Linked DNA regions of Homo sapiens: regions 2 and 3 are each linked to region 1. The links are contacts of gene promoters, found by promoter capture Hi-C in blood cells and fetal thymus (Javierre and others, 2016). All regions are on one chromosome and are shown on one strand. Each heading gives the region's core, a stretch centred on a gene start or on the middle of the fragment in contact. The rest is flanking DNA. Distances are from core to core; before and after follow the strand shown.

Region 1 (4,012 bases), core at 613-3,112:
GGGTGCTCTCCCATCTTCCCTCCCACTCCATCTCACTCCAGATGCAGACAACCTACTGCTGGGAGCCTCTTGCACTGTCTGTGCCACTACAAACCTTTACCTCTCAGGGCCCAGAGGAACTGGGCACCAGAACGGCTGACTGAAAGGGAAGAGAGGATGATACCTAGGTTTGATTTGTCCTTTGGGTACCACAATTCCCACATTTTCTTTAGGTCCTGCTAAATTGAAGTTTTCCCTGCAAATGGGTGCCCTGTAGACTCTAGAGTATCTCTACTTATTTATGAGTAGGAAGGCCGTCAGAGTGGTTAAGAATGAGCATTGGTATTGGAGAGACCTAGGTTGGAATCCTGGCTCTACTTTTTCACTTTTTGTGAAGTCCTGGGCAAAAGTCAGCCCGTTTTCCTTAACTATAAAATAGGGACATTAGTTCTAGATAGTTTCCTGATACACTGAAAAAAACACTCCATAAGCATTAATATTATCATTAGGGGGTCTGCTGGGTCAAGTGCTCCTGGGTTGCTCTTTAAAAAATCCCTCACAGTGGCAGAAGGAGGAGACAATGCCTGCCAGTCCCTGCGTCAGGTGACAGCCAGGGAAGGCACGAGGTGGGAACTGGAATTGGGACTTCTGGGCTGTAGTGGGCTATGCCCCCGTGTTTGCACAAAGTTTGTTATCAATAGCGTGAGTTCTCCCAGAATTGAGGATTCTCAGATTGCCCCAGGAGGGGGTATCTGGGATCAGATGCAGAAAATGATTATGACACATCACTATGAACAGAAATGGTGAACTAAGGGTGAGGCATGGAATTGGGACCATATCACAAAAGAGACGGAGGACACAAGTTTATAATAGTTACCATATCCACTTAGATTCCGGAGGTGAAGGACTTTCTGGTCACACCTATTCTTTCTTCCAGGACTTTTTGGAAGCCAGGGATAGAAAACACACTGGGCACACACTATACCCCTGATGGCTGGGGCTATAAAGTCTCTTCTGGGTGGTCCAGGAAGCAAGACCAGAACACATACCGCTGCTGGCCCGAGGATGATGACATGTAACTATTAAATTTTCATGGGTTTGAGGTCAAGTATCTTGTCTATTATCTTTTCTTCCCATAAACAGTAGGTGCTCAATAAACAAGCATGACAGCAGGAGAGGAAATGAGGAAAAGGCAGGATAAATAAAATACCCCTGATGAGTTCCAGGCCTCTTAATCTTGGTTCTTTCTCAATCGGTAAATATCAAATAAGGGCTCAACCGTAGTCCTGCCAACACCTCCAAAGCATCTCCATAGTCCGGATGCTAAACCACCCAGTGTCCACCAGGGGTCCTGGGATGAAGGGAGACGTGTTTCTTTCACGGTCATCATGATCGATTACTTCTTCCCTTCAAGTCCAGAGTCGCAGGCAGTGGACATAAGGCCACCTCCAGCCCTCTGCTTCCAAGGCTGGGGAGAGGCAAGGTCTCCCTTCGCCGCCGTAACCAGCCCGGGAACAGGAAGGCTGGGGAAGGTGGGGGACTCCATCAGCAAGGAAACCCTGGGGCTTCACTCTCCTACAGGCGGTCCTGCGAGCGCGGCCAAAGAGAGGCAGGGCGCTAGGGAAGGCGCGGGGACCCGGCCTCGGTGGAAGGACTTGTCCCCGGCGCAGAGGACGGGCGGGCGGCCGGGCGTGGGCGAGCGCGTAGCCGGCGTGCTCCTCCGTGCGCCCGGGCGGCGCGGGCGCGGCCGGCGATCCTGCAGAGGGAGCTGTGCGCCGGCCTTAGCGCACGCTCGGTGCCGCCCGCTCCCTCTTGCCGCCGCCGCCGCCGCTGGGCCCGCCCGCCGGGGAGGGGCTCCCGGCCTCGCAGACAGCGGCTTCCTGCTTTCTGCACGTCCTCGCCGCCGCGCCGCCAGTCCGTTTGTGCTAGCTCTGGCCGTGAGCCGGCCGCCCGCTGCCGCCGGCCGCCCCGCAGCTGCCTGCGCCCCAGCCGCGCCTCGCGGCCAGCCCGGCTAGCTCAGGTCCGCTCCCGGAGCCCGCGCCCCTCCACGCTGCCCCCTGCCTGTCCCCGGCCATGCTGTCCCTTCAGTACCCCGACGTGTACCGCGACGAGACCGCCGTAAGTATCTCTGCCTCCGCCCAGAGGGCTCCCGGGCAAAGGTGCCCAGCCTGCCTGACCCGTGGCACCCGCAGCTCCTCTTCCTGTAGGCCTTCGACCCCCGCGTCCCTCCCCTCCCCCTCGGCCTTTGTTTGGGAGAATTGGGCCGGGGGCGCGGGGCTCCTCTGCAGCGCTGGGGTCCCGCGGGCGGTCACTCTGCTAGTGCTGGCGGCGGAGCCTGTGGGCAGCGCCGCCCGGCCGCTTCCTAGAATCAATGGGGTCAAGGGCAGACGCCCGGGTAGAATGGGTGTCTTCAGGGAGTGGGAAGACAGACGGTGTCACTGCTTTTTTGACTGGCGAAGCCTCTTGCTTAAATATGGTGGTAGGAGAAAGTGTCCGCTGGGGTGTGTGTGTGTGTTTGTGTGTGTGTGTGTGTGTGTGTGTGTGTGATGTCACATTTAAAAACGAAAACAAACTTTTAAAACTTACACTTTAAAGTCCTTAGAGTTGAAGCATATTCGTTCGATTTTAAAAGGTGTGTTGAGCGCCTACCCTGTCCCAGGTCGGATGAGGCGCACTGGGCCCTGGGGATGCCAGAGACCCGGACAGAAATGGGGAAGGCGGAGCAGTGACCCCATAGTGTGGCCGTGCTGATCCATGTTTTCTTAAACAAGAAAAGGAGTTGAGAGAGGGTGAGAGGAGGTCTTAGAAGGGAGAGGGGTTGACCTTTTTCAGAATGAGTAAGTTTTGTCTAGTGGCGGAGTTGACCACCATTTGCCTAAGCTGCAGATGAACTCAAGGTAACTGTTGAGATCCAGTAGGCGGAATTCTGGGCAGACACCTTTTTTGTGTAAACGTGAATTTGACGACTTAGGAACTGGATTGCATCCACATGTTGTGGCCGTGATTCTCTTACTAATAGCTACATTTCTCAGATTACTTAAAATATAATCAGAATAAGTATGTATTTGTGTGATACAGTTTTAATGTTTTTCTGTTTACTTTCCCAATTTATGCCAGAAAGTGTTTACTTTAAAGCACGTGCTACATTGGGGTAAAGGGTGCTGACGCTTCGGAGTAAAGGACATACTGTTTTAAATTAAGACTTCCAAGTGACACTGATGCATTCATTCATGGTTTCTTTGACCAGTGGCCATCTGGTAACCATGTTTTCTCAGTCTGCTCAGCTGCTTGCTTATTAAATTTACCCTAACAGCTCAAGAAGCTCTATTCCTGTGGTTTAAAGGTTGTTTCCTTTGAATATGGGAGTAAAGTGATCCTGCTGGAATGGAGAAAGAGGCTGGACTAAATGAAAAGACCAGAGCGCTAGTTCTGGTTCTGTCATTCACTAGTTAGGTGACTTTTAGCAGCTCTTTTACCTGTTATGGGCCTTTTTTCTCATATGAGAAATATTTGGACTGACCATAGGGCTTACTTGCTTCTGCAGTAGGAATGTTGTCATTCATTCATTCATTCATGTGACAGTCTAGCTCTGCAGTGTTCCAGACTAGTAATGGGAAGCCAGGTGACTCTCTTGGTTCTGGTTCTTGAGGATCAGAATATAAAGAATTACCCATTCTGTGGTTTGATAAGTGCAGTTTTAAGTTTGTTTTTAGAGTTACTTGTTAGTTTTTCACCACTGTGGGTGCCTAAATCCTACAGTTTGTTTATTTATGTTTGATATTTCATGAAAGGTTTAAGTGAGGATTTTATGAAGACGTCTAAAAGATTATAAACAACTCGGAAGGGTATACTGTGGATTTTAATACACTCCAGTTCCTTCTCATTAAGCAACTCATGCTAACTCTAAGCCTCGTGGCCAAGGGAATGTAGCTCTGGCCCAGTCTGGATCTTGTTGTGTGGCTCCTTGATAGCTTACGGTGGAGTATCTTTTTTTTTGCATTAAGGTTTTGGTTACTAAGCCCTAGGCTTGACT
Region 2 (4,012 bases), core at 982-3,481, 1.6 Mb before region 1:
ATCACAGCTGTGAGTATGACTACGTGCTGAGTCTTTTGAGTCCTCTTAGTGAATCAATGAACCTGGGGACCTGCAACACAATAGCTGCCTATTTGACACCTCCACGTGGGCACATAATAAAGTCATTCATACGATGTCACTCCTTTCCTCAAATCCCTACCAAAGCACTCAGAGAACAGCAAAGTCTCTACGATGGTCTAAAGGCTCTATAGGATCTGGTGCTCCCTCAACCCCCATTTCCTCTCCAACCTCATCTGCCAATTTGACTCTTGCAAATTCAGCTTCAGCAACACTGGCATCCTCCCCTTAATTAAGCACTTACCATGTGCCAAGCACTAATCTGGGCACTAGGAATTCAGCAGAGGAAAAAAATACGAAGATTCCTATTCTTGTAGAGTTTATAGTCTAGTAGGGGAAACAGGTAGACAAAAAAAAAAACACCCTGTAAATTATATGATAGCTGGTGGTTAATGCACTGGGGGAAGAAAGTGGAGCAGGGTAAGGGGGATTGAGAGGGCAAGATGAGGTCAGGCAGGTGGCTCACGCCTATAATCCCAGCACTTTGGGAGGCCAAGGCAGGAGACTCGCTTGTGTCCAAGAGTTTGAGATCAGCCTGGGCAACACAGTGAGATCTAAAATAAAAATAGTATGGGCGCGGTGGCTCATGCCTGTAATTCCAGTACTTGGGGAGGCTGAGGCGGGCGGATCACTTGAGGCCAGGAGTTCAAGACCAGCCTGGTCAACATGGTGAAACCTCGTCTCTACTAAAAATACAAAAATTAGCCAAGCGTGGTGGTGCACACCTGTAGTCACAGCTATTTGGGAGGCTGAGGCTGAAGAATCGCTTGAACCTGGGAGGGGGAGGCTGCAGTGAGCCGAGTTCACACCAGTGCATTCTAGCCTCGGCGACAGAGCGAGTGTCAAAAAAAAAAACAACAAAACAGGCCGGGCGCGGTGGCTCACGCCTGTAATCCCAGCACTGTCGGAGGCTTAGGCGTGCGGATCAGGAAGTCAGGAAATCGAGACCATCCTGGCTAACACGGTGAAACCCCGTCTCTACTAAAAATACAAAAAATTAGCCGGGCGTGGTGGCAGGCGCCTGTAGTCCCAGCTACTCGGGAGGCTGAGGCGGGAGAATGGCGTGAACCCGGGAGGCGGAGCTTGCAGTGAGCAGAGATCGCGCCACTGCACTCCAGCCTGGGCGACAGAGCGAGACTGCGTCTCAAAAAAAAAAAAAATAGCCGGGTGTGGCGGTGTGCGCCTGTAGTCCCAGCTGCTGGGGAGGCTGAGGCAGGAGAATGGCGTGAACCTGGGAGGCGGAGCTTGCAGTGAGCCGAGATCCCGCCATTGCACTCCAGCCTGGGCGACAGAGCAAGACTCCGTCTCAAAAAAACAAAACAAAACAAAACAAAACAACACCCTGTGGAATAAAAATTGATCAGGAGGACGGGTGCATTCGAATGAATCAGGAAAAGAACACGCAATGATGGACCCTGGGAAGTGACCTGATGGAAGTTCATTTTAAAAGATCTCTTTGGCGTTGGTGTGGGATGAGTGGAGAGATGATCACGGCAGAATCCCATAGGAGGTTTTGGGTGACATCTTCAGGAGAGGTATACAATCTGAACTAACCGAAGACTGTAAGAAAAGCAGTGTCTGTAAAAAAAGCAGCGCTGACTTTGACCTGCTTGACGCCAGGAAACGCTCCACATTCCTGAGCCCGTTCACCGCTCCGTAAGATGGAGAAACTGGTCTAAACGCTTTGAAGTCTAATGCAGCTAAAGATCCTTCCCTTTACTTGGAGACCTCGGAGGCTGTGGGCTGAGACAGGGTCGGATTCCTCTCGCTCCCTCCCCACCCCCGCGGGCAGTGCACCTTCCTGGGTCCCCAAGGTCAAAGGAAATGGACAACTGCGTCCCCGGGTTCGCAGTCTGCATTCGGAGCCAGCAGGAGCGACAGGAGGCAGGAACGGAAGGCTTCGCCGCGCTCAATTACCACAGTCCCTGCGCAGCCCTGAGCTCGCGGGGCGTCCCGAGGCTGGCAGGACACGGGACACTCACGGGGAGACCCGGCGGGAGCGTGGGCGGGGCGGAGAGGCGAAGTGACAGGGGGCGCGGGCAGGGGGCCCGGCGCGGCGCGCCAGCAGAGGCGCACTCACCTGTACGTCAGGCCCTCTCGTCCCTCCCCGCGGCCGCGCGGACTGCAGGCCTCCAGGCTACCCCTATCTGCGCCCCGCCCCTTCCGCCGGCGCCGGCGCAGTGAGAGCGGGTCGGGCGGGGCGCGAGGCCAGGGCGGCAGCGAAGCAGCGACCCCTGCTGGAGGCCGCGTCTTGGAGGACTGCGCGGGAAGTAGGCTCGGGGCACACCATTCTCCCGGGTTCACGCCATTCTCCTGCCTCAGCCTCCTGAGTAGCTGGGACTACAGGCGCCCACCACCACGCCCGGCTAATTTTTTTGTGTTTTTAGCAGAGACAGGGTTTCACCGTTTTAGCCAGGATGGTCTCGATCTCCCGCCCTCGTGATCCGCTCTCCTCGGCCTCCCAAAGTGCTGGGATTACAGGCGTGAGCCACCGCGCCCGGCCATCTTAATTCTTTTTTCTTTTTTTTTTTTTTTTGAAACCGAGTCTCACTCTTGCCCAGGCTGGAGTGCAGCGGCGTAATCTCAGCTCACTGCGACCTCCGCCTCCCGGGTTCAAGCGATTGTCGTTCCTCAGTCTCCTAAGTAGCTGGGACTACAGGCGTGAGCCACCATGACCGGCTAATCATCTTAATTATTAATGAAGTGATCCTTTCTCTGGGACCACTAACCCCTTTGAACATTTTTTTTTTTGACAGGGTCTCACTCTGTTGCCCGGAGTGCAATGGTGCGATCTCGGCTCACTGCAACCTCTGCTACCCAGGCTCAAGCTGTTCTCCCCACCTCAGCCTCCCCAGTACCTGGGACTCCAGGTGTGTGCCACCACGGCCTGCTAATTTTTGTTTTGTTTTGTTTTGTTTGTAGAGATGGGGTTTCGCCATATTGCCCAGGCTGGGACTCAAGAGAAGCGATCTTCCAGCCTCAGCCTCTTAAAGTGCTGGGATTACAGGTGTAAGCCACCGAGCCCGCCCTCTTTGAACATCTCCAAGAGATATAGGCGTTGTTTCCAGAAAAATGTGCAAATACGTCAGACTCGCAGTTTAAGGAAACATCTTTTCAAGACCAACGCAATTTACACGTGAGCCAATTCCCCTTTCCCTCCCAACCAACTATCCATCCATTCGTCCATCCATCCATCCATCCATCCATCCATCCCTCTCTCATTAGGTCTGTCTGTGGAGAACTCTGACTCATACACCAAACAAGATGTCACCCTGCAACATTCTAACAAAACTTCTAGTCAAAGTCACAGATGACCTCTGCAATGTAAATCCAAAGGTCTGGTCTCATTCCTCAACTTACTTGAGTTATAGGATACCCCATTGGTTTCACCTACCTCACTTGCCACTTAATCTTCTTCCCTGTTTTTTCTTTTGTTTTGTTTTGTTTTTTTGTTTTTGAGAATGAGGCCTGCTCTGGCCCCCAGGCTGGTGTGCAATGGCATGATCTCTGCTCACTGCAACCTTCACTCTCGGGTTCAAGCGATTCTCCTGCCTCAGCCTCCTTAGTAGTTGGGACTACAGGTACGCACCACCATGCCCGGCTAATTTTTGTAGTTTTAATAGAGACAGGGTTTCACCAATATTGGCCAGGCTTGTCTCAAACTCCTGACCTCAAGTGATCCACCTGCCTTGGCATCTCAAAGTGCTGGGATTACAGGCATGAGCCACCACTCCCAGCCAGCTGTTTTTTCATTACATCCTTAGAATGCCAAAGAGTAAGTGCCCCATACTTAGACCTCTAATCTTTTTCCTTTTTATCTATCCTAGTTCCCCAGTCGATCTCCAACAATTTCGTGGCTTTAAATATTATCTATATATGGACGATCCTCAAATTTGTATTGCGAGCCGAGATCATTCTCTTGCATTCAAGACTA
Region 3 (4,012 bases), core at 498-2,997, 1.1 Mb before region 1:
AGTCTCCCGGGGTGGAATGTCTGCTTGCCCCATGCTGCTTCTAATATTTGTCACCACTTCTAGTGCCCACCTCATCTCTGATGCTATTTTTCTTTTTTTAAAAAAATCTTTTTTCTGTCATTTCAACATAATGTAACACATACCTCTCTACTTACACCTCAATGGTTGTGGTTTTTTTTTTTTTTTTTTTCTAATGCTGTCACTTCAGGCCAAACAATAATATCATCCTGTTGGGTACAATCAAAGGTATACTATTGGGTGAAAGAATAGTGACAGACTTTTTAACTTCCAGATTAACCTGTGTCCTGAAAAAGAGGTGTCACTGAATACAAAAGCCATCAATTATAAAAGTTAATTTATAATTTATAATTATAATTTCATTCTCCCAAAAAGCTTCTTTTAAAAAGCAGACTCCCAGTTTCGGGTTGGTATTGTCTTTAAGTCATTTATACTTTGACAGAGACAAAGTGAAACCTAATTGTTTCAAGCCATCGACACATGATCAATCAGAAAGGAAGATAAAAGATAAGATCATGGAATGTCTGAATTGTAGGATCATTTACTCATTCATTCCACTGATAATTATTGAGTGTCTACGTTGTGCCAGAATTTTCTCCGCACCTTAAAGAGGCAACCTGTGGCCTGTAGAATCGAATTATTTTTTCTAAGACATAAGTCAGGCTTTCTAAAAGGTAGCTCAGTATTTTTTCTTGTTAGAAATTATAATGTATCATTAGAAAAATAAGACTTTACTAGAATGATTAATGTGTCACTTTTATGAAGGCATGGCTTACATGCTTTCTCCTAGGCCATGCAGTACAGCAATGGATGTGATAGCATAAACAGCCAATGAGCCCTCTCTTGTGATGGAGCTCTGTCTTTAGAATCCAGGTAATTGTAGATAGAGTGTGCTGGATCTTTCCGTAGGCTCACCCTCCCTCAGCCTTGTCTGCGCCCCAGGCTCCCAGTTATGATGGAAGGTAGAAACTGACTTTCTTGTCCTTAGGATTTGGTTAGGTTCAGCCAGTGGGAGGCCCTGATTTCCCCCCTAATCTCTCCATCTCTTAGTTGGGCTCTGGGTTGGGTGTGGCTGGGTGTGACCAGGGCTTCTGCCAGGCAGCCCACTTCCGCCGCTGTTCTCTCTCCCCATATTCCCGAGCCGCTTTCCCCTCTTGCTCCTTCAGGCCTAAGATGGGAAAGGACCTCACCAGGTGCCAGATGGGAAGGCTTCATTAGCTATTGCTTGAGGTAGAATGAAGTTTTGTGGGGCATGAGGCATATGTTATTTTGAGAGTTTTCTTTAAGACAAAGAACACAAAATTCTGGCTTATAGATTTTAAGGAGAGGGCCTTGGAAGAGGCCATGTGAAAGAAGAACCCTGAAGCCTAAGGTTTTTTTTAGCCCTTCTTGGCTTCCTTAAAACCTCGCCCACACTTTGTAAATAGTCCTTCACTACTTTCCTTAATTACACAACTTGAGTGTGCTATATGTTTCCTGTGCTGGGATCCTGACTAATTCTACTGTGTGCCTAATTATGACTAACAAGTACCCCAGAAGGTTTCTCTACCTGTACTTTGAATAGTCTCCCCAACATTCTCTTTTTCTCACAAAGCTATCCGGCTGAATTAATTTGCTTTACAGTTGAGATGTATTATCCTAATTCGGCGATTTTTTTTCTTATGCATAATGTGTAATTAAAAGGAGATAGAGTAGTTTGAAATTTATAGCAAAAGTATTTCTTATTCTACCTCCTGGATTATATGCATATCCTGATTAACATAATCAAATTACTGACAAGTTAGTTCCTAACTAAAATTTAGCCAAACTGGAAAATGGAAATGTGTTCCTTGTGAAGTCATCAAATCAGTTCCTTTTTATTAACTTGTAACCCAGAAAGTACATTCCTTATGCAATTTAAAAAGAATGACTTGTGCAATAATTCATGTCAAAGATCAAGAATGGTTACTTTAAAGCACTTAAAAGCCACTGGTGAGTCTCAGAATCTAAGTACTAAAGAACCAAGGACTAAACTTCAGTTGGGTCATCCATGTATAAATGATATGATGCAGGAGATGGTGATTAAGTTGGGGGAAAGAGGGTGAAGCGGCCCTTGGAGACAACTAACACAGCCTGCCTGCCCCGACCAGGCACAGCTACAGCCAAGTCAGAGGCCCTGGGGCTGACTGGGACCCAGAAGAGAAATGAGAGCTGGAGAAGAGGAACAGACAAGCCTCTCCAACACAGCACGGACTCTAGCTAGGCTGGCTCTGAGACTTCTAGTGACCTTGAGACCTCATAACTTCAGGTCAGTTTAGCCATGTTTGTAAGTGTGGATTTAATAGTGGATTTATTTCTAGAAAATGGAACAATCTTTATCTTTCCAATTAATATACACTGCCCAGAAATGTCTTAGTTTCCTGTAGTTTCTAGTGAGAATTGTTGACTTTCTACCAACACTTTGCAAATTAAGAAGTAGATTTCACACTTCTATGATCAGAACTCAGGAATACTACTAAATGGGATCAAATCACTTATTCTCTCAAAAGTTGCACATCTATCATACAGGGTACTGAGAAATTCATGTGAAATGATACATGTGAACATCTTTTGAAAAGCACAAAGTAGCCTATGACAGTGATGGCTGGCTTTATTAACAGTGCGATATTTTGCTGATGTTTTGCTCAAGTTAAAATTATAGAAACTAAGTAAGTAACACAATGAATTTATGGTTCTCAACTGGTGAGAAGGAGATGAAAATAACAGCTTTATCAGATGTAGTTTCTAACAGAGCTAATTTGTCTGCAGAACTTGGCATATCATTGCTCATGAGCACTCATCTTTAATGTGTCATGGCTAGAATAAAGAAAACAATATAAGCCTACTCTTTTTTTAATCTCTTTTTTGCAGCTCATAAGGTATGGAGGATATGCAAACTATGCAGGGTGAACACTTTTGAATCACCCTATGTAAAACAGCACCCTCACTTTCTATGATCTATTCTCCTTTATTTTTCTTCATAGCACTTAACATTACCTGAACCATATTGCATATATATTTGTATATTTCTTTATTGCTGTGTCTGCTTACAGAACATAAGCTTCGTGAGGAACAAGAACGTTATTTTGTTCACCTGTGTCCCTACCTCTTCATCAATGCTTGGTACCAATAGGCACTTAAATATTTACCAAATGTACATATTTTCCAGAAATCCTTTATCCTCCAGCCTATCAACAATCAAGAGTCAGACAACAGTGTATCATGGAATGGACAGTGGTTTGGGGCAATCACCTATCACCGAACCTGAGTAAGCAACTTTCAGATAGAAACAAAGGCCTGTCTCTAGCCTTATTCTCTTTCTCAAATGACTCCCCAAAATCTAGTTTCTAAAATATTCCTCCTCTGGATTATTTTAAGGATAAACTGAAATGTTTGTAAAATGCCCAATACAATCTCTGGGGAAGAGAAGGGAAATGGAAAAGAAAACCATGAAATAAATACATATTTGACCCAAAAGCACAGGCAATAAAAGCACAAAGTAGACAAATGGGATTGTATCAAACTAAAAAGCTTCTGCACAGGAAGGGAAACAAAAGAGTAAAGAGAAAATCTATAGATTGGGAGAAAATATGTGCAAATCATACATTGGATAAGGGATTAATATCCAAAATATACAAGGAATTCAGACATCTCAACAGCAAAAACAATCTGATTTAAAAAATGGAAAAAGGATCTGAACTGGCATTTCATAAAAGAAGACATGCAAATAGCCAAGAGGTTTTTTTTTTTGTTTTTTTTTTTAGTGCTCAACATCACTGTTCATCAGGGAAATGAAAATGAAAATTATAATGAACTATCACTTCACACCTGTTAGAATGGCTGTGATCAAAAAGGTGAAAGATAAGTGTTGATGAGGATGTGGAGAATGGGAATTCTTATACACTGTTGGTGGGAATATAAATTAGTATAGCCATTATGGAAAATAGTGTGGAGGTTCCTCAATAAAACAAAAATA

What was found. Contacts are between HindIII fragments. The CHiCAGO score rates a contact against its expected background, and 5 or more counts as called.
Region 2: the fragment with the promoter of MTRES1 here is called in contact with the fragment with the promoter of PREP in region 1 in 1 of 17 cell types (activated CD4 T cells); the score reaches 5.1 in activated CD4 T cells.
Region 3: a contact is called between a fragment that was not itself captured here and the fragment with the promoter of PREP in region 1, in 1 of 17 cell types (activated CD4 T cells). The highest score is 5.1, in activated CD4 T cells.

What each region holds. Positions count from the first base shown.
Region 1 is chr6:105,400,932-105,404,943 of GRCh38, reverse strand. PREP (prolyl endopeptidase) reads left to right here and starts at 1,862. Exons shown (of 15, transcript NM_002726.5): 1 at 1,862-2,097. The coding sequence starts at 2,053. RefSeq lists a silencer at 1,585-2,154. The HindIII fragment of the contact is 7,847 bases long and covers 1-4,012 here.
Region 2 is chr6:107,026,418-107,030,429 of GRCh38, reverse strand. It overlaps MTRES1 (mitochondrial transcription rescue factor 1), which reads right to left and starts at 2,231. Exons shown (of 4, transcript NM_016487.5): 1 at 2,159-2,231. RefSeq lists enhancers at 1,513-1,612, 1,723-1,832 and a silencer at 1,943-2,412. The HindIII fragment of the contact is 13,635 bases long and covers 1-4,012 here.
Region 3 is chr6:106,500,208-106,504,219 of GRCh38, reverse strand. The region is part of intron 2 of CRYBG1 (crystallin beta-gamma domain containing 1); the gene reads right to left. It overlaps LOC101927405 (a long non-coding RNA gene), which reads left to right and starts at 1,999. Exons shown (of 3, transcript XR_245566.4): 1 at 1,999-2,305; 2 at 3,206-3,304. The HindIII fragment of the contact is 2,704 bases long and covers 396-3,099 here.